7 separate regions of the Homo sapiens genome follow, and regions 1, 2, 3, 4, 6 and 7 are each linked to region 5. Evidence: promoter capture Hi-C in 16 types of primary human blood cells and fetal thymus (Javierre and others, 2016). All regions are on one chromosome and are shown on one strand. The core of a region is centred on a gene start or on the middle of the fragment in contact, and the rest is flanking DNA. Distances in the headings are between cores, read along the strand shown. Region 1 has its middle 11 kb from the start of LILRB4. Region 2 overlaps ZNF524 (zinc finger protein 524). Region 3 holds the start of NAT14 (N-acetyltransferase 14 (putative)). Region 4 holds the start of SBK2 (SH3 domain binding kinase family member 2). Region 5 holds the start of TNNT1 (troponin T1, slow skeletal type). Region 6 has its middle 10 kb from the start of ZNF579. Region 7 overlaps ZNF784 (zinc finger protein 784).

What was found. Contacts are between HindIII fragments. The CHiCAGO score rates a contact against its expected background, and 5 or more counts as called.
Region 1: a fragment that was not itself captured here is called in contact with the fragment with the promoter of TNNT1 in region 5 in 1 of 17 cell types (M2 macrophages); the score reaches 5.3 in M2 macrophages.
Region 2: a contact is called between a fragment that was not itself captured here and the fragment with the promoter of TNNT1 in region 5, in 1 of 17 cell types (erythroblasts). The highest score is 5.1, in erythroblasts.
Region 3: the fragment with the promoter of NAT14 here is called in contact with the fragment with the promoter of TNNT1 in region 5 in 17 of 17 cell types (naive CD4 T cells, activated CD4 T cells, M2 macrophages and 14 more); the score reaches 17.1 in naive CD4 T cells.
Region 4: the fragment with the promoter of SBK2 here is called in contact with the fragment with the promoter of TNNT1 in region 5 in 8 of 17 cell types (activated CD4 T cells, non-activated CD4 T cells, naive CD4 T cells and 5 more); the score reaches 9.5 in activated CD4 T cells.
Region 6: a fragment that was not itself captured here is called in contact with the fragment with the promoter of TNNT1 in region 5 in 1 of 17 cell types (total CD8 T cells); the score reaches 5.4 in total CD8 T cells.
Region 7: a fragment that was not itself captured here is called in contact with the fragment with the promoter of TNNT1 in region 5 in 10 of 17 cell types (activated CD4 T cells, M0 macrophages, M2 macrophages and 7 more); the score reaches 8.5 in activated CD4 T cells.

The regions. Positions count from the first base shown.
Region 1 is chr19:54,672,033-54,675,265 of GRCh38, reverse strand. No RefSeq gene overlaps it. Among named protein-coding and RNA genes, the nearest start is that of LILRB4, 11 kb to the right of the region's middle. The HindIII fragment of the contact is 1,834 bases long and covers 650-2,483 here.
Region 2 is chr19:55,601,689-55,605,079 of GRCh38, reverse strand. It overlaps ZNF524 (zinc finger protein 524), which reads right to left. Exons shown (of 2, transcript NM_153219.4): 2 at 1,942-3,005. The coding sequence starts at 2,967. The coding sequence ends at 2,173. Among named protein-coding and RNA genes, the nearest start is that of ZNF865, 2.3 kb to the left of the region's middle. RefSeq lists enhancers at 1-259, 260-811, 1,915-2,465. The HindIII fragment of the contact is 3,453 bases long and covers 259-3,391 here.
Region 3 is chr19:55,483,597-55,486,720 of GRCh38, reverse strand. NAT14 (N-acetyltransferase 14 (putative)) reads right to left here and starts at 1,533. Exons shown (of 3, transcript NM_020378.4): 1 at 1,463-1,533; 2 at 941-1,060; 3 at 1-313. The coding sequence starts at 1,012. It overlaps ZNF628 (zinc finger protein 628), which reads right to left. Exons shown (of 3, transcript NM_033113.3): 3 at 2,234-3,124. The coding sequence ends at 2,348. RefSeq lists an enhancer at 894-1,223 and a silencer at 1,324-1,743. The HindIII fragment of the contact is 21,455 bases long and covers 1-3,124 here.
Region 4 is chr19:55,535,035-55,538,423 of GRCh38, reverse strand. SBK2 (SH3 domain binding kinase family member 2) reads left to right here and starts at 1,291. Exons shown (of 4, transcript NM_001370096.2): 1 at 1,291-1,370; 2 at 2,128-2,382. The coding sequence starts at 2,130. RefSeq lists a silencer at 388-682. The HindIII fragment of the contact is 39,425 bases long and covers 1-3,389 here.
Region 5 is chr19:55,147,806-55,151,047 of GRCh38, reverse strand. TNNT1 (troponin T1, slow skeletal type) reads left to right here and starts at 1,842. Exons shown (of 14, transcript NM_003283.6): 1 at 1,842-1,887. The HindIII fragment of the contact is 19,232 bases long and covers 1-3,242 here.
Region 6 is chr19:55,569,116-55,572,319 of GRCh38, reverse strand. No RefSeq gene overlaps it. Among named protein-coding and RNA genes, the nearest start is that of ZNF579, 10 kb to the left of the region's middle. The HindIII fragment of the contact is 6,950 bases long and covers 1-3,204 here.
Region 7 is chr19:55,618,252-55,621,446 of GRCh38, reverse strand. It overlaps ZNF784 (zinc finger protein 784), which reads left to right. Exons shown (of 2, transcript NM_203374.2): 2 at 1-706. Among named protein-coding and RNA genes, the nearest start is that of ZNF784, 4.7 kb to the left of the region's middle. The HindIII fragment of the contact is 1,799 bases long and covers 817-2,615 here.

The sequences.
Region 1 (3,233 bases), core at 317-2,816, 480 kb after region 5:
GGGACTGAGTAAGATGTGTAGCCCTTACTTAGTTACTTATCTTCTATGATTTTTAGCTTAAGATCTTCTATTTTTTTACATTAATATTTAGCTTTTTTTTTTTTTACTGTTAGGGGTTGGTTTTTTAGCTTTTTGGCTTTGACTTGAGTGTGATGCATGTAGAAGTTGATTCCTGTAACTTTTACTGCCGAGGAGGTTGAAAGACGAACAGTGTAGGGCCCTTTTTAGCTTGGCTTAGGGAAGGAGACAGAGATGAGAGTTCTTACTAATACTAAATTTCCTGAGTTAAATAAAGGTGGTTTTATTTCCTAGGGCTGGGCTTCTGCTATTGTGTCAATTTTTGTTGGAAGTGAGCTAGAGAGGTTACGTGGTTAACCATTCTAGAGGTTTCCCGTCTGAAAACAATGTTTGAGCCCATTGATAAGTTTTATTTTTTCCTGAGTGAAAAGCTTAGGACTTCAAGAACTTTCTGTTGGCTGGAGGCTGACCAATAAATTTGCCATCCTGACTGTAGCCATCCTGAGGGCTGAAAAGTATGCCCTTGAGAAGTGGCTTATTCTATTTTTTCAGGGGAATACTGAGGTGTGATTTCTCTTATGGAGCCTTTTTAGATTAGAAGGGGCTTGAAGTGCATTAAGGCCTTGAAGCTTTTATGCCTTTGACTTAGCTGCCCGATTGGCTAACTTATTTCCTTTGGCTACCTTATTGTTTATTCTTTGATGTTTCTTACAATGCATCCCTGCTACTTTTTGTGGAAGAAAAAATAAGAATAACTTGCTAATTTTTTGGTGATTTTTTATAGGAGATTTATTAGCAGTAAGAACATGTTTTTTTGTTTTAAATGGCAGCATGAGCATGGAGAACCAAGAAAGCATACTTGGAGTTAGTGTAAATGTTAGCTGCCTTTTCCTTGCTTAATTTAAGTGCTTTTTAAAGAGCTATTAACTCAGCTAATTGAGTGTTTGTGCCTGGAGAGAGTGACTACTGCTTATTCTGCCTTATTTACTTTTTGCTTTACGGGCTGTTTACCAGCTAAGAGCTCCCCCTAGAGGACAGTGATTCTGCTACATTATGTGGGCTGTAAACAGTTAAATTATTTTTATTTTCTAGGGTTAACTTGCAGGCTTTTCTGACTAGTAGAGCTATCATGACAATGGCTTCAATGGCTTGAAAGCATGTTTTTTTGATTTTTTGTTTGTTTGTTTGTTTGTTTTAGATGGAGTTTCACTCTTGTTGCCCAGGCTGGAGTGCAATAGAGCGATCTCGGCTCACTGCAACCTCTGCCTCTTGGGTTCATGCAATTCTCCTGCCTCAGCCTCCCAAGTAGCTTGGATTACAGGCATGTGCCACCACACCTGGCTAATTTTTTGTATTTTTAGTAGAGATGAGGTTTCTCCATGTTGGCCAGACTGGTCTTGAACTCCCAACCTCAGGTGATCCACCCACGTCAGTCTCCCAAAGTGCTGGGACTACAGGCGTGAGCCACCGTGCCTGACCGAAAGCATGTTTTAACTAAGATTGAGAAAATATTGGATTAGACTTTTTCCTAAGATGCCCCTTACGGTTGTGATGAAGGAAGAAGGGAGGCCTGGATTAGAGAATAGAAAAGAGAGAGAGACTAGCTTTAGTGTTTAGAAGGAGGTCTACTTTCCTTCCTTTAATTTCCAGAATTATCCAGGGCTCTTGTGCTATAATGGCAGTTTGAGCTACTGGAGCCTAGGTTCAAGCACCAGGATCCATCAGTTTTGCTGGACCATCTGTGAGACTGGTTTTGAACTCAGTGACCTCCATGTCTGGGGGCAGTTCTGTTTTCAGTGGTTTTTGCCACAGGCTGGACAGAGTGGAGGTTGCTTCATTTTGCTGACTGGACATTCTGGCCTGCTACACTAATAGCAACTAGAGGATGCATCTTGGTGATCTGGGACTTTGCGAGCCTTCAAAGCTGCTGCTAGAGACTTTGTCCTTCTCCTGAGCTTTTTTTCTTTCTTTTGGGACTCCTCCTGGTCCATATTATAAAAGACCAAAGTGGCCACCTTCAGGAGGTTTTTTAAGGTGCTATTTGGTCCTGTAGCTTTCTTTTGTAGTTTTTTTTTTTTTTTTTTTAATATTGGGAGCTGCCTGTGTAATAAATTTGTCCCTCAGGATGAGCTGTTACTTAACTGGATTAGAGAATAAAAAGATATACTTTTTTAGTGCCTCTTTTAGCCTTTTTATAAAGGCTACAAGATTTTTATTTGGCTTTTGTTCCATTATAGACAGTTTAGAGTAATTGAGAGGTTTGGCCCTGGTTTTCTGTAGGCCTTTAAAAATGCATATTAAAAAGGGCTTTTTCATTCATTTGGGTCACCATGATGTTTTGAATACATGGTGTTGTCTGGAGGTGGCCATCACACTTGGCACAGGTGGTAACAAAGAGAAGACAGTAGGAATCACCATATTGAGTGAACCCAGTTTTTAATGGTTGGCATTTGCACATTAAAGCTTGCTGGCCGGGCCATTTAAGCTGTCATTTCTGTTAGAAAAGAGATGGTTCAGGGATTGTTCCTTATTACTGGAAAATTTCCACCAAGAACCTTTACCCTTACTATCTGCCTAAAACAATTTCTTAGTAACTCCTGTATTACCAGGAGGTCACTGGGGGAACAACAGCTTGGGGTAAACACTCTATGAGGCATAGCACCTGTAGGTCCCCGCATGGGCTGAGGTCGCAGGACTCATGGAGAATTCAACCTCTACCACAGAGTAGGGTACTTTGATATTAGATACGAGGGTGGGGTCTTGTCAGCTGCATCCTCCTCAGATAGAAGGAAAGTGTCTGTCCACCCAGCTTTGCATCTGACACAGCAGGGCCATGTTCTCTCCTGAGACCACAGTGGGGCCTGGTTGCACCAAGAGGGAGGCTGTCTCACGGATCTGTCCTGGAGAGAAGAAGGATGGGTGAGGAGCCGCCCCACCTTGTTCTGAGCTGAGACTTCCCCAGGCCTCTCTCTGGGACCCTCAGTATCTCTGTCTCTGTTTTCTCTGAGTTTCCCCGTCCCCGCCCAATCCATCCTCTCTCTCTCTCTGCCTCTCCCTCCCTTGAGACCCCCACCCCTCATCCCAACCATCACCACCTAGGCTCCCCTGGCAGGGCCTGTACAGAGCCTGGGTCCCTAACTGAACCCGCTGGGCTTCTCACCTGCGATCAGGATGTCCAGGGGGGTCACTGGGGGCTGACCACCTAGAGGAGAGGT
Region 2 (3,391 bases), core at 736-3,235, 450 kb before region 5:
AATCGGTGGTTGTCAAGGATAGTTGGGAGGCCAGCAGCATCCGGCTGCCTGCTCAGACCATGCGGAATAGAAGCCCTGGGGTTGGGGGTCTAGGGATCCGTGTTTTGAAATACTCTGATTCTGCTGCATGCTGGTCAAGAGCCATGGATTTACCACACTTGACACTGCCCGCTCATATAATCGCTATAATCCCGGCTCCCAACTCAGCCCCATCCCAAACAGCCAAACCCAGACCCATTCAGCCCCTCCTGCTAAGCTTCCACTCTCCCAGGAACTTCCCTTAGATTAAGTACTTCCTTCTCTCCCCATCGCCTCCATAGCAGTCGTGCGCCCCCATCAGCACCTTCTAAGTCCCACCTCCAATACCCTGTTCCCTCAGAGTTTCTCCTTTAAGCCCCGGCCCCCGGCCCTCGGCCCTGAACCACGCCCACCTCAGAGCTGAATTATTATAAGCTCCGCCCCTCACCTTAAAATCCGTTCTCTTGGCCTGGCGTGGTGGCTCACGCCTGTAATCCCAGCACTTTGGGAGGCCAAGGCAGGCGGATTGCTTGAGCACAGGAGTTCAAGACCAGCCTGGGCAATATGGCAAAACCCCGTCTCTACAAAAAAAAAAAATACAAAAATTAGGCTGGACGCGGTGGCTCACGCCTGTAATCCCAGCACTTTGGGAGGCCGAGGCGGGTGGATCACGAGGTCAGGAGGTCAAGACCAGCCTGGCCAAGATGGTGAAACCCCGTCTCTACTAAAATTACAAAAATTAGCCAGGCGTGGTGGCGGGCGCCTGTAATTCCAGCTACTCGGGAGGCTGAGGGAGAGAACTGCTTGAACCCGGGAGGCAGAGGTTGCAGTGAGCCAGATTGCCCCACTGCACTCCAGCCTGGACGACAGCAAGACTCCGTCTCAAAAAAAAAAAATTAGCTAAATATGCTGGCGCCCGTCTGTAGTCTCAGCTACTCCGGAGGCTGAAGCAGGAGGGTCGCTTGAGCCTGGCAGGTCGAGGCTGCAGTGAGCGGTGATAGGGCCACTGCACTCCAGCCTGGATGACAGAGCGAGACCCTGTCTCAAAAAAAAAATTATCCGTCCTCCTTGCCCCACTCTCACGCAGTTCCTCCTGTTCTTCCCCAGCTCCAAGCCCCTACTCTCTATTAGATCAACTCTATCCATCCTCTTTAAACCGCTCTCACTTTCTGCGGACCAACCCCTAAACCTCTTTAAGCCCCACCCAACTCTAACCCTCTTCTAAGCCCCCGCCCCAGGTCCCAGCCTAACTGCCCCGCAATCTCAGCCCCACCCCTCGCTCCTTAGCCCCGCCCCAATCCACACCCCTTATCTCTAAACCTTACCCAGACCGTCCTGCTCATACCTTTGTCTTAATTTTTCCTTCCAAACAGTAGGTCCTCAGGACAAGGAGGTGGGGCAAAGTGGCTGCAGAATTTCTGGGAATTGGCTAGGAGAGAGGCGGTCGGACCTACAGTCAGGTCTGCATGGAAGGTTCAATGTTTTTAGTTAGATTGGATGTGTACTGGGAATACAGCTGACCCTTGAACAACAGGGGTTTGAACTGCAGGTCCATTGAGAGGCGGACGTTTTTTCACCCAAACACCGGTGGAACATACAGTATACGAAGGGCGGATTTTCCTACATCCGCGGGTTCCGCAGGGCCCACTGCTGGACTTGTGTATGCCCAGATCTTGGTATCTGCGAGGTTCGTGGAACCAATTCCCCGCGGACTCCGAGGGACCCATGGACTTTGGGGTCTGATGGAGATGGGGAAGGGGCCAAGGTTCCCCCCAAAACCATTCTTTGGCGAGCACCACGCTCATGAGGCACAGGAAGTGGGGTCCTCTCCAATTCCCCGCACTCCCGACAGGACGGTGTAGCCGAGGAAGAACATTTGAAGGCAGGAGAGGATGGCATCCCGGCACGGAACACACACAGGCAGCCAGCAGGCAGAGATTTATTTCCACAGCCCCTGCCTCCAAGGGTCTGTTAGTCTGGGGGAGGGGGGCTGAAGGCAGCTGGACCCCAAAGTTTAGGTCTCCACCCTCCACCTGCTCCCACAACGGGAAGACCACCGGAAACAAGGGTGTCCCGGCCCCCTGGCTCAGGCCCAGCACCAGCCAAACTCCCTGCTCTAAACCTGGCCCAGGGAGCGATGGCCGGGGGTGTGGGTCAGGCCGGCTCCCCTTTCCCCTCTGTCTCCTCCTCCTCCTCGGCCCCTGCTGTGGCCGGGATGCCCTCCTCGTCCCACGGCGGTTCAGACCCTGGATCTGGTGCACACAGGGGTACCCCCATGGCCTCCGGGTGCTTGCGCTTCGCATGGCGCCGGAGCGTGTTGGCCTCTGTAAAGCGCAGCCGGCAGATGGGGCACTGGTACGGGCGCTCCCCCGAGTGCACGCGGTGGTGGTGCGCCAGCTCGCCCGCCTCGCGGAAGCGGCGGGGGCACAGCGGGCAGCGGAAGGGCCGCAGGCCGGCATGGATGTTGCAGTGCCGCCGCAGGTGGCTGGAGCGCTTGAAGGTCTTGCCGCAAACCTTGCACTGGTGCGGCTTCAGCTCTGAGTGCGAGATGCTGTGGCGCTCCAGGTCGGAGAGGTAGGGGAAGGCCCGCAGGCACACCGGGCAGAAGTGTGGGGCCTTCCTGGGGCCAGAGCCCTCAGGCCCAGCCGCTGAACCTTCAGAGACCGTATAGGGCACACCCTGATCATCGATCAGGAGGAGGTCGCTCCCGCCACTGCTGCCTACTGGGGCTGTCACCCCCTGCACCTGCACCAGTGGGGGCTCCTGCCCTGACTTGGGGGGGCGGCCCCGCTTGCGAGGGAGGGAGGCCTTGAGTGTCCGATTTGAGGAGGTGGCTCCCCCAGGACGACGGCCTCGGCGGCCCCGGGGAACAGGAGGAGATAAGGCCAGAGGTTTCTCTTCCTCCCCGGGCAAAGGCGAAGGCAACGGGTCTGGGCTGGGGGTGTCCATTGAGCAGTGGGGGGCTTGGGTCTGGGCACTGGAGCCAGCTAAGAGGAGAGAGGGGCAGAGTCAGTGCTCACAGGGTCTAGAGCACCCCTGTGTCCCCCAACACCTCGCCCATCCCTCTCTCCAAGTCTCTTGACAAAGGTGTGTTTGACATTCATCCAGATACACAATTTTAGCTATGCTGGTGGGTAAAACAGTGAGATGATCTTGTATCAGCTGATAAACAGGCACTTCCCTGAGCTCCACCAGACATCCCTATGCCTCCCTAACTCTCCTTCTGGATCTAGAAGTTCAAGATCAACATGAGCAACACCCCTCCCCACCTCCCCACAAAAAAAAACCTTCCAGAGAGGATAGAGTCCAACTGAGAGTGCAGACCAGTATTGTGATCCTTGAAACGGAGAGCCCATCAAACTCCAGAGCCATA
Region 3 (3,124 bases), core at 284-2,783, 340 kb before region 5:
ACAGGCGGGTGACCCGGGCCCCGTCCCCTGCATTTGTGCCAGGGGCCAGAGCCAGGACCCCACACACGTCACCGGAGCCCCGCACGGCCACCCAGGGGCCCCCCAGGCCACCCGGCGGAGGCAGCGAGCCCCATCGGGCCCGCAGGCCCAGCTTCACGGCGGCCACAGCCAGGAACACCGGCAGGAGGAGGGCCAGGGCGAAGGAAGCCAGGACAAAGCGCAGGCCGCTGCTGGCCGCCGCCAGGAGGAGCAGGGCCGGCGGCCGTGTCAAGGCATGGAGGGCCACGCGGTTTTCCGTGTCCTTCACGCCGGCCTGTGGGCAGGAGGGGTGGCTCAGCCATCCGAAACGCTAGGGCCTCCTGGACAAAGAGAGGAGGTAGACCCTGCCCGGGGCGGGGTGAGAGCTCCCAAATGGGAAGGGAAGGCAGCACAGTCCGATGTTCAGTGTGGCACACTGGGTATGGAGTGAATGAATGAACGAGAGCGAATGATGGATGGATGAGTGAATTAGGAGCTGTGGGGGCACTCAATTCAGTAGCAATGCCGCAGTGAGGCCCCAGGGAAGTAAGGACAGGGAGGTTGCCTCAGGCTGGAGTGGAGGCTGGAGGGAGGCTGCTGGGCTAGGTTGGGGTGCTGGGCTGTGCTTTGAAGAGTTGGGGTCCGAGGCACAGAGCTGGCTGTTGTGCTGGCGTGCACAGCCGACTGGAGATGGGAGACCAGGGAGGGCGTTGGTGCTGGGGTCCCAGTAGGGCTGGGGGGGTGAGCCCCCACCTGCCACACCTGCTGTGGTTTTCAGCAGCAGGGCGGCTGAGGCTCAGGAGGAAAAGATCCCGCTCCAGGGGTCCAGGCTGGCTCAGGTGGGTGGGAGGGGGTGGCTGAATCCACTTGCAATTCCCCCACTGCAGCCACTCCCAGGCCCCCTGGGGCCCCTGCCTCTCACCTTCAGCATCTCCAGCACCAGGGGCTTCTCATCTTCCCTCATCTCCCGCACTGACAGGTGGCTGGGGGCCATGGCAACCCCCAGGCCCCGGCCCCCCAGAAGGGAGCTGGCGTCGTGCACCTGGTGAGAACATAAGTAGGTCAGCGTCAGGGGGGCACCTCTGTCCCCAAAGCTCCCCCGAGGGGTAGGGAGCAGCAACGGCACTTCCCAGATCAGGACACTGAGAACCCTCGGGGCCCCCAAGCGAGGATCTCGGCAGGACAGGCGCCCCCCACAATACTCAGCGACCTTGCTAAAGTCTCCCGGGATCCCCCCTCCCCCGTATTATTCAGCGATCTACACTCCCAAACGCGCTGCGGACGCCAACACTGCAGCACGGGGCTCCCTCCCAGGCACTGGGGTCCACGAACACCCTCCCCACATGCCAGAGAACGGACCACGCTCGCTCCACCCCGGTCCCCAGCGCCCCCTCCCCCACAGTCGTCCCCGTCCCGCGCCACAAGAACAAGGACCAGCAAGCACCTGCACCGGTCGCCTTTGGTCCTTCGACAAGGTTTCGGGAGCGGGTCTGGAAGGGGGTCGCGGGCGGAAGTGACGTCAGACCGCGCGCGGTGGGGCGGGGCGGCGCCCGCTCCGGGCCGTAGCAACCGTTGCTAAGCTCCCCGGAGGGCGGGCTGGGAGGAACCGAGCTGTGACCCTGCGGAGGGCCGGGAAGCGACCTCTCCTATCCCTAGAGAAGGAGCAACGGGGAAAGGGGACCTGGGGAAGAACGGGAGCGGAAGCCGGCAGGAGACGGGCGGCGGGCTGGGGACCAGCGCGAGCTCCCGCCCCACGTTCCCTCGTTGCTGAGCAACCTGAGCGCCGGGCGGCGACGCCAGCGCGTGGATTCTCATCCGTGCCGGGGCCTTCGCGGGAGGAGCCGGCCACGCTCAGCATCCTGGCGCCCGACTCCCCCATCCCCAGGGACCCCACTCCACCCACGGGGCGCCCGGGGTCGCAGAACCCTTCCGCATAAGGATCCCCCTACTTCTCACACGAGGGGGGCAGCGGGGCGACCTACAGTGAACAAGTAGCACTCCCTGGAGTCTGATGTCACCACCTCCCCACTATAATGACCCCTGCGGCCTTTTTTGGTTTCAGGACAGGGGAACTGAGCCCTACGTAGTGGCTGGCCCCAGGATGCAGAACAAGCCATCTGCGACCCAGGACGCAAGACTTAAGACTCCACGCTCCCAGGCGGGGGCTAGGACCATGACTTTGCCCCCTTCCCTCCCCCCAGGAAAACAAAACACAGGCGGGGAGACTCGGGTCTTTATTAGCAAGCCCAGCCTGCGGCACCCTGCCCCGCCCCGGCTGGCAGTGAGTCGGGGTCTCTGTGCGGGGCGGGAGGGGAATCACTGCCTCTCCTCAAAACGTGTGCACCAGCTGGACTGCGGGTAGAGTCTGGACAATCTGGATGGAGGGCAGGCCCTGAGGGGTCATAACACCAGGCCCAGCTCCTGCGGGGACCACTTGCACCATCTGGGAGGCTGGAGCCCCGGGGAGCCCCGCGGGGCCCGAGGCTGGGCCTGACGGCGGTGGGGCCAGGAGCTGCAGCGTGGCGGTGCCTCCTCCAGTGTTGCTGCTGTCCAGCAGCTCAGTGGCTGGGGCGCTGCGGATGATGAGGAGTTTCTGTCCGGGTGGGCCGGTGGCAGGCGGCTCCGTCAGCCCAGGAGGAAGTGTTTCTACCTCCTGTACGCAGAGTCGAGTCTGTTCGCCATCGGCCCCGCTCAGCACCAGCACGCTCTGCAAGCCCTCGTCCGTCTGGAGTGTCTCAAAGAGGACATCCTGGACCACACCAGTGCTGGCCTCGCCATCCCCCGCCTCCCCGGGGCCCGGGCCAGTGAGCAACTCCTCAGCTGCCCCGCTCTGAACAACCAGCAGGTTGGGTGCCTCAGTAGCCACAGCTCCCCCACTGGAATTGGAGAGCTGGCCGGCCACGGGCTGGAGCTGGACCGTGGTCACCTCCTGTGCTGGCTGGAGCTGGACCGTGGTTACTTCCTGTGCTGGCTGGAGCTGGACTGTGGTCACCTCCTGCGCTGGCTGGAGCTGGACCGTGGTTACTTCTGGGGCTGGTCGGAGGGGCTGGAGCTGCACCCCACTCATTTCCTGTGGCCCTGCCTCCCCACCCCCCACATTCTGCAG
Region 4 (3,389 bases), core at 42-2,541, 390 kb before region 5:
GTGGCCCAAGGCTTGGGGACTTCCTAGTGGGGCTTAATCTCCCTGTGCTTACAGCAGGGAGGCACTCACTGGCCTGTATTCCTGTTATGCGCTTTCAAACTATTTTTATTGTTATTCCTCTCTTTGGAATCAGGAGCCCTCAGGCCCTCCTCCCTCAGACCCAGGAGTCCAGGTCCTCAACCCCCTCCTCCCTCAGGCCCAGGAGTCCAGGTCCTCAACCCCCTCCACCCTCAGGCCCAGGAGTCCGGGTCCTCAACCCCCTCCTCCCTCAGACCTAGGAGTCCAGGTCCTCAACCCCCTCCTCCATCAGGCCCAGGAGTCCGGGTCCCGTGTAGAAAATGAAATCATTTCTGGAACCCACCCCTGCCTTGACCCCACCCAGCTGCCCCATCAATGCCCCATTGACAGGTCAGACACAAGTGCTTGGAGAGGGGTGTCCAGGGGATCAGATGCTGGGGTCTAGTTTGGGGAAAGAATGAGACAATGAGATTCCAGAACGATGCAGTGTGGGATGACCTCAGACTCAGAGGGGCGGGAAGCAGGTGCTGGAGCAACTGGGAAGAGAGGCCTTGAGGGGGTGGGGAGGCCTCAGTTCTGCCGGAAAACTTCAGATGGGTGGGGGAGGCTGAGGCCTGGACTCCTGGGTCTGAGGGAGGAGGGACTGGGGCCTGGACTCCTGGGTCTGAGGGAGGAGGGGCTGGGGCCTGGACTCCTGGGTCTGAGGGAGGAGGGGCTGGGGGTCTGGACTCCTAGGTCTGAGGGAGGAGGGGCTGGAGACCTGAATTCCTGGGTCTGAGGGAGGAGGGGCTGGAGACCTAGACTCCTGGGTCTGAGGGAGGAGGGGCTGGGGTCTAGACTCCTGGGTCTGAGGGAGGAGGCACTGGGGGACTGGATTCCTGGGTCTGAGGGAGGGAAAGCTGGGGGCCTGGATTCCTGGGTCTGAGGGAAGAAGAGCTGGGGGCCTGGACTCCTGGGTCTGAGGGAGGAGGGGCTGGGGCCTGGACTCCTGGGTCTGAGGGAGGAGGCACTGGGAGACTGGATTCCTGGGTCTGAGGGAGGAGGCGCTGGGGGCCTGGACTCCTGAGTCTGAGGGAGGAGGAGGGGCTGGGGCCTGGACTCCTGGGTCTGAAGGAGGAGGGCTCAACTCTTGGGTCAGGGTATTCACCTGACCACAGCCAGTTCCAGGAGTCATCACACGATGTCGCTCTGCTCCCAGTGGGGGCAGAAGGGGCGGGCCCAGGGGCGGGGCCTTACGACCCCCAAAGTCGGGGCGGGGTCTTGCTCCTAGGCAGGCCTCTGCTGGCATGAGCCCTAAGTGCCGGGCACTGACCACAGCCGGCGGCCGGAGGGTCAGGAGGGCCTTGGAGGAGGTGAGGTCTGGAGGTCTGAGCCCAGGTTGGGAGGTGGGCAAGGTGCCCTGGCCTGAGGTGGGCAGCACCTGAGGGTGACTGTACCAGGTGGCCCGAGTCCTCGGTCCCTCAGGGGAGCCTGGGCTGCACCTGGAGGCTGTAGAGCGGTGGAGGGTGAGGGAAACAGAATCAGGGGGTCCCCAGTTGTGTGAATTGTATGAGGTTCCGGGAGAGAGGTGGGCTGGGGGCCTGGACCCCTGGGCCTGGCGGAGGAGGGGCTGGGGGGCTGGGTCGGAGGGAGGTGGGTGGGCTGTGAAAGTGGGACCCCAGGCCTGTCAGGAGCTTGGGGACTGATCCCAAGTGCTCGGTCCCATGCAGGACCCAGGCGTCCCAGGCCCTCTGCACAGCCCGCCCTCCCAGCCCTGAGCCCAAGAGCACCTGTTTGTTCTCAGGAGACAGAGTCTACTCATCCACCCCCAGGGCCCAAGTCTGTTTGCTTTGGAAACAAGATGGGGGAGTCTCAGTTATCTGGTTCATCTTTCAACCTCAGGGTGGGCGGGTGGCGGCGGCGGCACGCGGGCAGGGACATCTGTGACCTGGGGCTTGAACTCACACCAGACTTGTCTCCCCACCTCTCACCAAGAGGGAGACTGAGTCACAATGAGAAGCGCGATGAGCCCCCAGCCCCTCCTCCCTCAGACCCAGGAGTCCAGACCCCCAGTCCCCTCCTCCCTTGGGCCTGGGACCTGAGCCTGGGCACCCCTCTCTGTTCTCGCAGAGATGCCCGGCAAACAGTCTGAGGAAGGGCCGGCGGAGGCAGGGGCTTCGGAGGACAGCGAGGAGGAGGGTCTGGGCGGCCTGACATTAGAGGAGCTCCAGCAGGGCCAGGAGGCTGCCCGCGCGCTGGAGGACATGATGACGCTGAGTGCTCAGACCCTGGTCCGAGCCGAGGTGGACGAGCTCTACGAGGAAGTGCGTCCCCTGGGCCAGGGTTGCTATGGCCGCGTCCTTCTGGTCACCCATCGTCAGAAAGGTACGAGGCTGTGGGGCCAGAGGTGGCAGGGTTCAGCTGGGGGCGGGGCACGGGCCTGGGGTAGCCCAGGCTGGGGAGGCTGGCAGGCCTGAATCAAGTCTTACCTCTGCCCTCCAAAGCTGTGTGTTTTTTGTTTTTTGTTCTTTTGGTTGGTTGGTTGTTTTTGAGACAGTCTGGCTCTGCCGCCCAGGCTGGAGTGCAGTGGCACAATCTCACTGCAACTTCCACCTCCCAGGTTCAAGTGTTCCTCCTGCCTCAGCCTCCCATGTAGCTAGGACTATAGGCATGCACTACCACACCCAGCTACATTTGTGTGTGTGTGTATTTTTCTTTCTTAGTAGAGATGAGGTTTCACTCTGTTGGCCAGGGTGGTCTCGTACTCCTGGCCTCCAGTGATCCGCCTGCCTCAGCCTCCCAATTGCTGGGATTACAGGCATGAGCCACGGTGCCCTGCCAAAAACTGTGTTTTGAGGAACTCCCTTGCCCTCTCTGAGTCTCAGCTTCCTCCTTTGGAAAATGTGGGTGATGATTTCTACTTGGAAGAATGGTGGATCCTCTGAGTGAATGTGGACTGCTCTAGTTGCTGGGGTTGTATAATGCTGGGTAAGACAGAGCTCCCAGCTCAGGAGCCTCCTGTGGCGGCTGTAGTGGTCACCGTGGGATGATGCAGAGTGATGCTGTCTGCTAAGCACTTAGCAAGGCCGGCACACAGTGGGTGCGCAGGACAGCTCCCCACTACCCTGGGCCTTTCTGCCAAGCACCGTGTCCTTCCATGAAACGGAAAATAGGGAGGCAACCTGAGGTCAGTCAGTTCAGGGCACGCCTTCTGAGGCCAGCCCTGTGCTGGGGGGGTTGGGCGGGCAGTGGACCCAGAATTGAACCAGAGCCAGTCCCTGCCTTCAAAAATCTCCTAGCATGAATGCAGAAAAAGTGTGCATTCATCTGCTGGGGCTGCCATAACAAAGGCAGGCGCTTCCACAACAGAACTTTTGACTTTTTTCTTTCTT
Region 5 (3,242 bases), core at 593-3,092:
GGTGGTGGAGGCTTAACATTTAAGTGCATTCCATTGAATGCATTCGTATCGAAACACGAAGCAGGGATATGAAGACACTCAGTGCACAGCCTCTGTCAACAGCCAGAACCAGTCCGTGGTCTGCGGCATCTTATCAGGAGAAAGTTACTGAAATCAGTCTCTTGTTCAACTAATGCTGTAGTTATGCCTTGTGGAACAGGGGGTTCAGCTAGTCAGCATCTGGCAATGGATGGCTGCAATGGTTGTAATATTGCTTATCTTGAGGCCGGTGCTTGTTTAGCTGCTAGAAAAAGGAAAAGCCTTGTGGCAGTTGGAACATAGTCGATTATATAAGTGTAGGGATGCGTGGCTTAACCCTTGCCTGGCATGGCCTTAGGTCTTGTTTATAATTTGGTATCTTATTGCCACAAACAGTTCATTCCATCAGTCTTCTGATCTCTATTGTCACAGCTCCTCTGGCCCATGTGGAGTGCACAGAGATGCCAAGACTAAAGGTCAAAGAGAGAGAGACACAGAGAAACAGACAGGCAGAGAGACATGACCGACAACAGAGAGACTGAGTTGGGAGTAGAGAGAGTAGGAGCCAGGCAAAGACCCAAAGAGAGAGGGAGAAAATACCACAAGATGCATAGAAGGAAGTGCAAAGAAAGGAGAAAAGAGAGACAGAGATATACTCACAGCAAGGTGCAGAGACATGGAGACCCTATAAGAGATGGAAATGGAGAGCCACAGAGGGGGAACTGCGGGCACTAAGAGAGACATGGAGAGAACTAGAAAGATAGAGACGTGAACACAGACACAGAGACCCAGAGCCAAAAAGAGACAGAAATGGGGTCATAGGTGGACAGAAATGCACAGAGAGACTGTGAGCCCCCACAGACACAAACGCTGAGAGGGGCAGACATGCAGAGACACCCACAGAAATGCAGAGACAAAACCACCCGGAGACACATGCCGAGAAACACACTGAGGGGCTCAGAAAGCGACAGATGCAGAGAGAGCCCAAGACAGACCCAGCAAGGGGCCCCGAGAAATGCACAGAAACACAAAGACCGAGACCACCAGAGACAGAGGTACGGAGAGGCGGGGAGGGTGAGGAAGCCTGCTCTCCAGGGCTGGCTTGAACCTAGAACTCAAGGTCATGGCTTGGCTGGGAAGCGGGAGGGGGATACCAAAAAAGATCAGCGTTAGATGGAGGTGGGGAGGGAGGGTAGGTTTCACCCTAATTGACACCCCACCCTCCCCCTCCCCCTCCCCACACCTGCTTCCCGGCTTTAGTGCCTGTTGTCACCAGGATGGAATCCTGGCGGCAGACAAAGGGGTGGGGGTGGGAGGAGGAGACAAAAAGATGGACAGAGACAGAGGAGGAGACTAAGAAGTAGAGACAGACACACAGAGACACACAGATGGAGAGCCACAGAGACAACAGAAATGGGGGTCCAGAAAGAGACCTAGATAGAAAGAGGGAACAGAGAGAAGAAAACAGGAAACATTCCTTATAGCCCATGTGTCATTAGTAGGTCCTCCAAGGACCTACTGTGTGCCGGGCATGGGGACGTCAAAGCACAGGGAGCTATAAGGGAGGTAGTTGGAGCACCACGGGAGCCTGGGGTGTGGGGTGGGAGCAGGGGCGGGGCTCCTGGGCCATGCAGATGGGGTTGGCATGGGGTTGGGGAGGGGCCCACGGAGGCTTCTGGACTCTGAGTGTGGAGCCAGGGGCAGCAGGGCTGTCTCTGAACTCCCAGGCTTGTGTTTGAGCAAAGGAATTCTCTCCCCCTCCCTCTCCCCTCGGGGCGGGCCCGAGCCTCCAGCTATAAACTCCCCGGAGCTTCAGTGCCCTCAGCAAGGCTCAGCCTCAAGATTCACAGCATCTCAGACACAGCCTAGGTAAGGGGCTCTGCGGAGCCCTGTGGTCTTCAAAAACCATGTCCTTGGGGGAGGGGGCAGGAGGCAGGTGGGGAAGATGTCGGGTGTGGAGAAATGGTGCAGAGGTAGGTGGGGCATACAACTGGAGGTCTGGGAACTTGAGAGGCTCAGACTTTAGGGGGACTCAGGATAGAGGGGAAAATACTAGGATTTGTGGGTTACACAAATCCTAACCCGGGGCTGCCAGGACTTGGATGTCCCAGAATAAAACCTCCTAGGATCTTGGGGTTCTGGGAATCTGGGGGAAATCTCAGCAGTCAGGGATATCTGGACTTGGAGGTCAAACAATCTGGGTGTCAGGATTTGGGGCCTCAGACTCTGAGGGTATCAGGAATTGGGGGGGTCTCAGAAGAAATTGGGGTTTTGGTAGTGGAGGGCTCGGAATCTGAGACATTATGATAGAAAGCATGAAAACTTAGAGTGCCATTATCTGGGGTATCATGAACTGGGCCTCCGAGTTTGGGTATCAAGATTTTGGGGGTCTCATATTCTTGAGGTTTCAGATTTTAGGAGGTCTCAAGACCTGGGGGTGGTCTTAGGATGTCCCGGCCCATATCTGGACTATCAAGAACTGGGATTTCAGAATCCAGAGCTGTGAGGACTTGCTGGCCTCAGAAACACGGGCATCATAAATCGGGGTCTCAGAATCTGTGGGTATTGGGATTTGGGGCTAGGCACCCTGTGGCCTAGGGTGTCTCAAAGACTTTGAGGTCTAAGAATGTAGGGGTCAGGGTGAGGTCTACGGACAGAAGGTGCCCTTTATGCCCCTGCCCCCTACGTGATGTATGGGAAGGTGAAAGGGGAGACAGGTGGGGAGGAAACCAGCCAGTGGGGTGGGGCGAGTGGGAGAGGGGATGCGGGTGACTAATTCTCCCAGAAGCCCCCCTTCCTCAAATCCCTTCTTAGGAAATGTCCTCGGTTTCACCATCTATGACATCCCCCCAAAATAGCTCCTGGGGGTGGGGCAGCTATTGTCTTCAGGCCACTGTCCCTTCTCAAATGCCTCTTCCTAATCCCAACTGGATCAGGTTCCCATGGACTTGTCATAAGACAAAAGAGGACAGCTGTGCTGAGGGGGCAGGGTCTGCAGCCTCCTGGCTGTGCCAGGACCACACCTACCAAGGTCTGTCCTCATGCATGCTTTAGGACAGCCGGCCCCCTCCCTCAGACCCAAGAGTCCAGACCTGAGCCCTCCTCCCTCAGACGCAGGAGTACAGGCCCCCAGCCCGCTCCTCCCTCAGACTCAGGAGTCTAGACTCCCAGCCTCTCCTCCCTTAGATCCAGGAGTCCAGGCCCCAGCTCCTCCTCCCTCAGAC
Region 6 (3,204 bases), core at 125-2,624, 420 kb before region 5:
GGTGATTATTGAAGGAGTTGTGGTTATGTAGGGAACACGACCTGCCATTTGTCTTTCACTTGCTGAACACTTTACACGTACGATCGCAACCACATTTGTTTGTTTTTGCTTGTTTGTTTGTTTTTTGAGACGGAGTTCACTCTTGTTGCCCAGGCTGGAGTGCAATGGCACGATCTCGGCTCACCGCAACCTCCGCCTCCTGGGTTCAAGTGCTTCTCCAGCCTCAGCCTCCCGAGTAGCTGGGGTTACAGGCATGCACCACCATGCCCGGCTAATTTTGTATTTTTAGTAGAGACAAGGTTTCTCCATATTGGTCAGGCTGGTCTCGAACTCCCGACCTCAGGTGATCCACCCGCCTTGGCCTCCCAAAGTGCTGGGATTACAGGCGTGAGCCACCGTGCCCAGCCTGCAACCACATTTGTTAATAATAGGAACCCACTTCTTGAGTATTCACCCTATGTCTGCTTCAAGGGTACTACGTAGATTAGCCCATTTAATCCTCACAACAGCCACATAAAATAGATACTATTATTGGCTCTGTTTTCGTTTTGCCTTTTCATAAACAGCTTTACTGAGGTACCATTTACATATAGACTTCATCCATTTGGTCGTACAATTCGATAATTTTTTTTTTTTTTTTAGACAGAGTCTCACTCTGTTGCCCAGGCTCAAGTGCAGTGGCTTGATCTCGGTTCACTGCAACCTCCGCCTCCTGGGTTCAAGCAATTCTCTGCCTTAGCCACCCAAGTAGCTGGGATTACAGGTGCCTGCCACTACGCCTCACTAATTTTTTTTTGTATTTTTAGTATGAACGGGGTTTCACCATGTTGGCCAGGCTGGTCTTGAACACCTGACCTCATGATCTACCCACCTCGGCCTCCCAAAGTGCTGGGATTACAGGCGTAATTTGATAATTTTTAATAAATGTACAGAGTTGTGCCTCTATCACCACAATCCAATTTTAGAATATTTCCAGGCTGGGTGTGGTGGCTCAGGTCTGTAATCCCAGCACTTTGGGAAGCTGAGGCGGCAGGAGCACTTGGAGCCAAGAGTTTGAGACCAGCCTGGACAACAAAGCAAGACCCTGTCGCTACAAAACATTGAACAAAAATTAGCTGGCTGTGGTGGCAAGTGCCTGTAATCCCAGCTACTTGGGAGACGGAGGTGGGAGGGTGTCTTGAGCCCAGGAGTTGAAGGCTGCAGTGAGCTATATGAGTTGAAGGCTGCAGTGAGCTATGATCACACCACTGAACTCCAGCCAAGGCCACAGAACAAGATCCTGTCTCTAAAAAATAATAATAATAATAAATAAATTGATGAATTAATTAAAAATTTTAAAAAGAATATTTTGATCACCTCAAAAAGACATTCTGTGCCTGTTAATAGTCATTTTCCATTCCCACCCTCAGCTCTGGGCAACCACGAATCTATTTTGTCTCTATGGATGAACCTATTCTAGACATTTCATATAAATGGAATATGCCATATGTAGCTTTGGTGACTGCCTTCCTCCTCTTAGCATAATGTCTTCAAGGTCTATTCACATTGTAAATTGTGTCAGTTCAGTACTTAATTGCTTTTTAGTTGTTGTTGTTGCTGTTATTGAGAGAAGGCCTCACTTTGTTGCCCAGGCTAGAGTCCAGTGGTGCTATCATGGCTCACTGCAGCCTCAACCTCAAGTGATCCATCTCTCCCCAGTTTCCTGAGCAGCTGGGACCACAGGGTGCATCATGACACCTGGATAATATTTTTATTTCTTGTAGAGATGGGGGTCTCACTATGTTGCCCGAGCTGATCTTCAACTCCTAGGCTCAAGCAATCCTCCCACCTTGATCTCCCAAACTGCTGGGATCAAAGGCATGAGCCATTGCACCCACCCTCTTCATTCCTTTTTTACAGCTGAATAATATTCCACTGTATGGATACACCACACATTGTTTATCCTCTCATCCGTTGATGGGTGTTTGTATTGTTTCTACTCTTTGGCTGTTTAAGTAATGCTGCTGTGAACATGCATGTACAAGTCTTTTTTTTTTGTTTAGAGACGGAGTCTCGCTCTGTTGCCCAGGCTGGAGTGCAGTGGCATGATCTCTGCTCACTGCAAGCTCCGCCTCCCGGGTTCATGCCATTCTCCTGCCTCAGCCTCCTGAGTAGCTGGGACTGCAGGCACCAGCCACCACACCCAGCTAATTTTTGTATTTTTAGTAGAGACAGGGTTTCACCCTGTCAGCCAGGATGGTCTCAATCTCTTGACCTCATGATCTGCCTGCCTCGTCCTCCAAAAAGTGCTGGGATTACAGGCATGAGCCACCATGCCCGGCCTTTGTTTTTTTTCTTTTTTTTTTTTTTTGACGGGATCTTGCTCTGTTGCCCAGGCTGGAGTGCAGTGGTGTGCAGTCTCGGCTCACTGCAGCCTCTGCCTCTGAGGTTCAAGCAACTCTCCCACCTCAGCCTCCCGAGTAGCAGGGATTACAGGGGCACACCACCACACCCAGCTAATTTTTGCATTTTTAGTGGAGACGGGGTTTCACCATGTTGGCCACGCTAGTCTCAAACTCCTGACCTCTGGTGATCCACCTGCCTCAGCCTCCCAAAGTGCTGGGATTATAGGCCTGAGCCACTGCGCCCAGCAACAGGTCTTTGTGTGGGCATATGTTTTCATTTCTTTGGGGCAGATTTCTAGGAGCAGAATTGCTAGGCTGTGTGGGAAGTGTGTGATTCACTTTTTAAGAAAGTGCCAGACTGTTTCCCAAAGTGGCTGTACCATTTACAGCCCACTAGCGATTATGAGGTTCCCAGTAGGCCCTGCTTTCCTGAGAAAACTCAAGTACAGAAATGTGAAATGAATTAGCCAAGGCCACACAGCTAGTAAGTACCATGCCAGATTTGATCCCAGGCATTGTGACTGCAAAGCCTGGGCTTTTAAACTTTACACAATGCTTCATCCTTACCTCATTCATTAAGTTTTTTTTTTTTTTTTTTTTTTTTGGAGACGGAGTCTCACTCTGTCACCCAGGCTGGAGTACAGTGGCACGATCTCAGCTCACTGCAACCTCTGCCTCCTGGCTTCAAGCGATTCTCATGCCTCAGCTTCCCGAGTAGCTAAGATTACAGGCATGTGCCACCACTCCCGGCTAATTTTTTTATTTTTAGTAGAGATGAGGTTTCACCATGTTGGCCAGGCTGTTCTCGAACTCCTGACCT
Region 7 (3,195 bases), core at 467-2,966, 470 kb before region 5:
CTTGGTTGGCTTGTCCTTGTGCAAGACCCAGCCTGTCACGACAGAGCCTGGGCACTTCAGAGGAGGAGCCAGGATCGAATGGAAGGGGGGAATTGGGGTCCACCATAGTCTTCTGCTCTGGTCCTCCACGGGTGGACCAGGATGGAGTCTCCTGCCTACCTCACTGCATTGCACTGGACCTGGGATGCCTATCCACCCTCTGGCAGAAGACACTCACCAGGTTATCTGTGAAGAGACTCTGGGATCCCATCACCTCAAAGCCAGAGGGTCCCCAAGTCACCGCTGAGAGCACTTGAGCCTCAAGGATGTAAGCCTGACCATAGGATCTTGACTCCAACAGCGGCAACCCCCACCCCCATTGTGGTCCGTCCTTAACCCATCCACTCTTCTTCGGAGGCAACTGAGAACACATAAAGCAAGCAGCTACCTAGCATCCCCCTCCTAAAGCTTTAGACTCAGAGCCCAGGGTCCCCCACAAGCCTCAAGGTAGCCTCAGGTTTCTCTAATTTCCTCCACTCCCAGTTCGAAGCAAACAGCTTACTGCCTAGTCCCCGCCAATCCCAAGGGCGGGCTGGCTGATGGCAGCATGGTGGGCTGGCCTGGGTGTGGAGTGAAAGAGTCACTGTGGTGGGGGCGAGAGGAGGACTTGGGAGCTGGAGGTGTGACACCTTCAGTTCTGTTCCTATTAAAGGACCTTCTGAAGGGCTTCTCTGTCGGTCTTGTATTCGGATTGTCCGCTTTGGGGAGTTGGGGGAGGAGGGGCCTCACCATGGTTTTGCCACCAGCAGTCAGTTGCATCATCTCTTCCTCCAAGCTTCTGTTTCCCCATCATCAGAATGGGGGGTGAGTAGGCCCCACTGTGGTTACGTGTTATGTGGTTCAGCTGTAGGAGAGGGGGGTCAGGGAAGTTTGGCAAAAGCACACTCAACATGCTTTGCATGCTTGTTGAGTGAGAGCCTCTGATTTGCACACCTTTCTGTTCACCCAGTGGGCCCCATGAGATAACTCACAGGCAACTCACAATGTGAACAGAACTCATTCCATTTTCCTCAAAGAAACCTCCATGCTTCTGATGTCATTGGCACCACCACCCAAGCTGGATACCTGGGCAGGTTTAAACCTTCTTCATCCTCATTCTTATGTCCAGTCCCTTATCAGTTTCCCTCAGTTGAGCCAGTTAATATCTTTGGAACTGGAACGTGTTTTCGGCATCACTACACTTGTAGACCAACAGTGGTCTCACACACAGACAACTGCACAGCAGTCCAGTGCCTGCATTTTTTTTTTTTTTTTTTTTTTTTTTTTTTTTTTTTTTTTTTTTTGAGATGGAGTTTTGCTCTTGTTGCCCAGGCTGGAGTCCAATGGCACAATCTCTGCTCACTGCAACCTCTGCCTCCTGGATTCAAGCACTTCTGCCTCAGCCTCCTGAGTAGCTAGGATTACAGGTGGGCGCCATCACGCTCAGTTCATTTTTGTATTTTTAGTAGAGATGGGGTTTCATCATGTTGGCCAGGCTGGTCTCAAATTCCTTACCTCAGGTGATCTACTCGCCTCGGCCTCCCAAAGTGTTGGGATTACAGGCGTGAGCCACTGCACCCGGCCACCTGCCCTCTTCATTCTCCATATGGCATCCATGCAGATCCTTGTCACCAAGACACAGCTCCTTGTGGCTTTGAGACGATTTGGAAATGTGAATGCCTACAGGAGCTGGGTGAAAATGTAAATACACGAGCAAGACGGCCAGGTTCAAGGGGAAAATATCAGCAACATGAAATAATGGCGATTGCCACCAGGTCTCAGAATTGGTATTCAACAAATTGGAGAGTGCCTCTTCAGAAGAGGGTAATGGCTGCTCAGCTCCGGAACACAGATTGGGTTGCCACATCTTCCAGTTTCTTTCAGAAGTTCCATTAGTTCACATTATGTAAAATCTTTTGATTTCCCAATGTTGGCAGTCAAGTCAAACTTTTTAAAAAATGCACAGACTAAACAAAAATGTGTTAGTGGTCATATTCGGCCTTGCAGCTGCCAGTTTCCAGCCTCTAGCCTATAAAATCACCCAAGCCCCACAGTTTGGAATTCAAGACCCTTCAGGGTTTAGCCCCCAGGAACCCAACCTCCAGCCATACTAATCTGTCTTAAATGCTCCAGAATAGCAGGGTTTAGTTCAACACACTAAACTCTCCGCCTGGAAATCTTTGCCACTTCTTTTTTTTTTTTTTTTTCTTATTTATTTATTTTTTTGAGACAGAGCCTTGCTCTGTCGCCCAGGATGGAGTGCAGTGGCATGATCTCGGCTCACTGCAAGCTCCGCCTTCTGGGTTCATGCCATTCTCCTGCCTCAGCCTCCCGTGTAGCTGGGACTACAGGCGCCTGCCACCTGCTCCCACCACCACACCCGGCTGATTTTTTGTATTTTTAGTAGAGACAGGGTTTCACCGTGTTAGCCAGGATGGTCTGGAGCTCCTGACCTCGTGATCCACCTGCCTCGGCCTCCCAAAGTGCTAGGATTACAGGCATGAGCCACCGTGCCCGGCCTCTTTGCCACTTCTTTACCTGGAAAACTCCAGTTGGTTTATGTCATCGTTCAGGGATCACCTTCTCCCCAAGAAGCTTTTCTAGCCCCCCTTCCACTCTGACAGGTGACTCCTCTGTGCTCCCTCAAGCCCTAGTGATACTTCCAAGTCCCTTACACTGTGAGGCTCCATTTCCATGTTACTGCTGAACCCTGAACCCTGGGGGCACTGGCACAACGTCTGTCTCATGCTGGGTCTTCAGCATTAGAACATGGAGCCACACAGGGTAGCTGCTCTCCCATGGGTCACACAGGACTCACCCAAGCAGCGCTCTTACCTAGTTTCATCTTCAAGTTTCTTTTTTTCCTTTTTTTTTTTTTTTTTTTTTTTTGAGATGGAATCTCGCTCTTGTCGCCTAGGCCGGAGTGCAGTGGCGCAATCTCAGCTCACTGCAACCTCCACCTCCTGGGTTCAAGTGATTCTCCTGCCTCAGCCTCCCGAGTAGCTGGGATTACAGGCACCTGCCATCACGCCCAGCTAATTTTTGTACTTTTAGTAGAAAGGATGGTTCACCATGTTGGCCAGACTGGTCTCGAACTCCTGACCTCAGGTGATCTGCTCGCCTTGGGCTCCCAAAGTACTGGGATTACAGGCATGAGCCACTGCACCTGGCCTCATC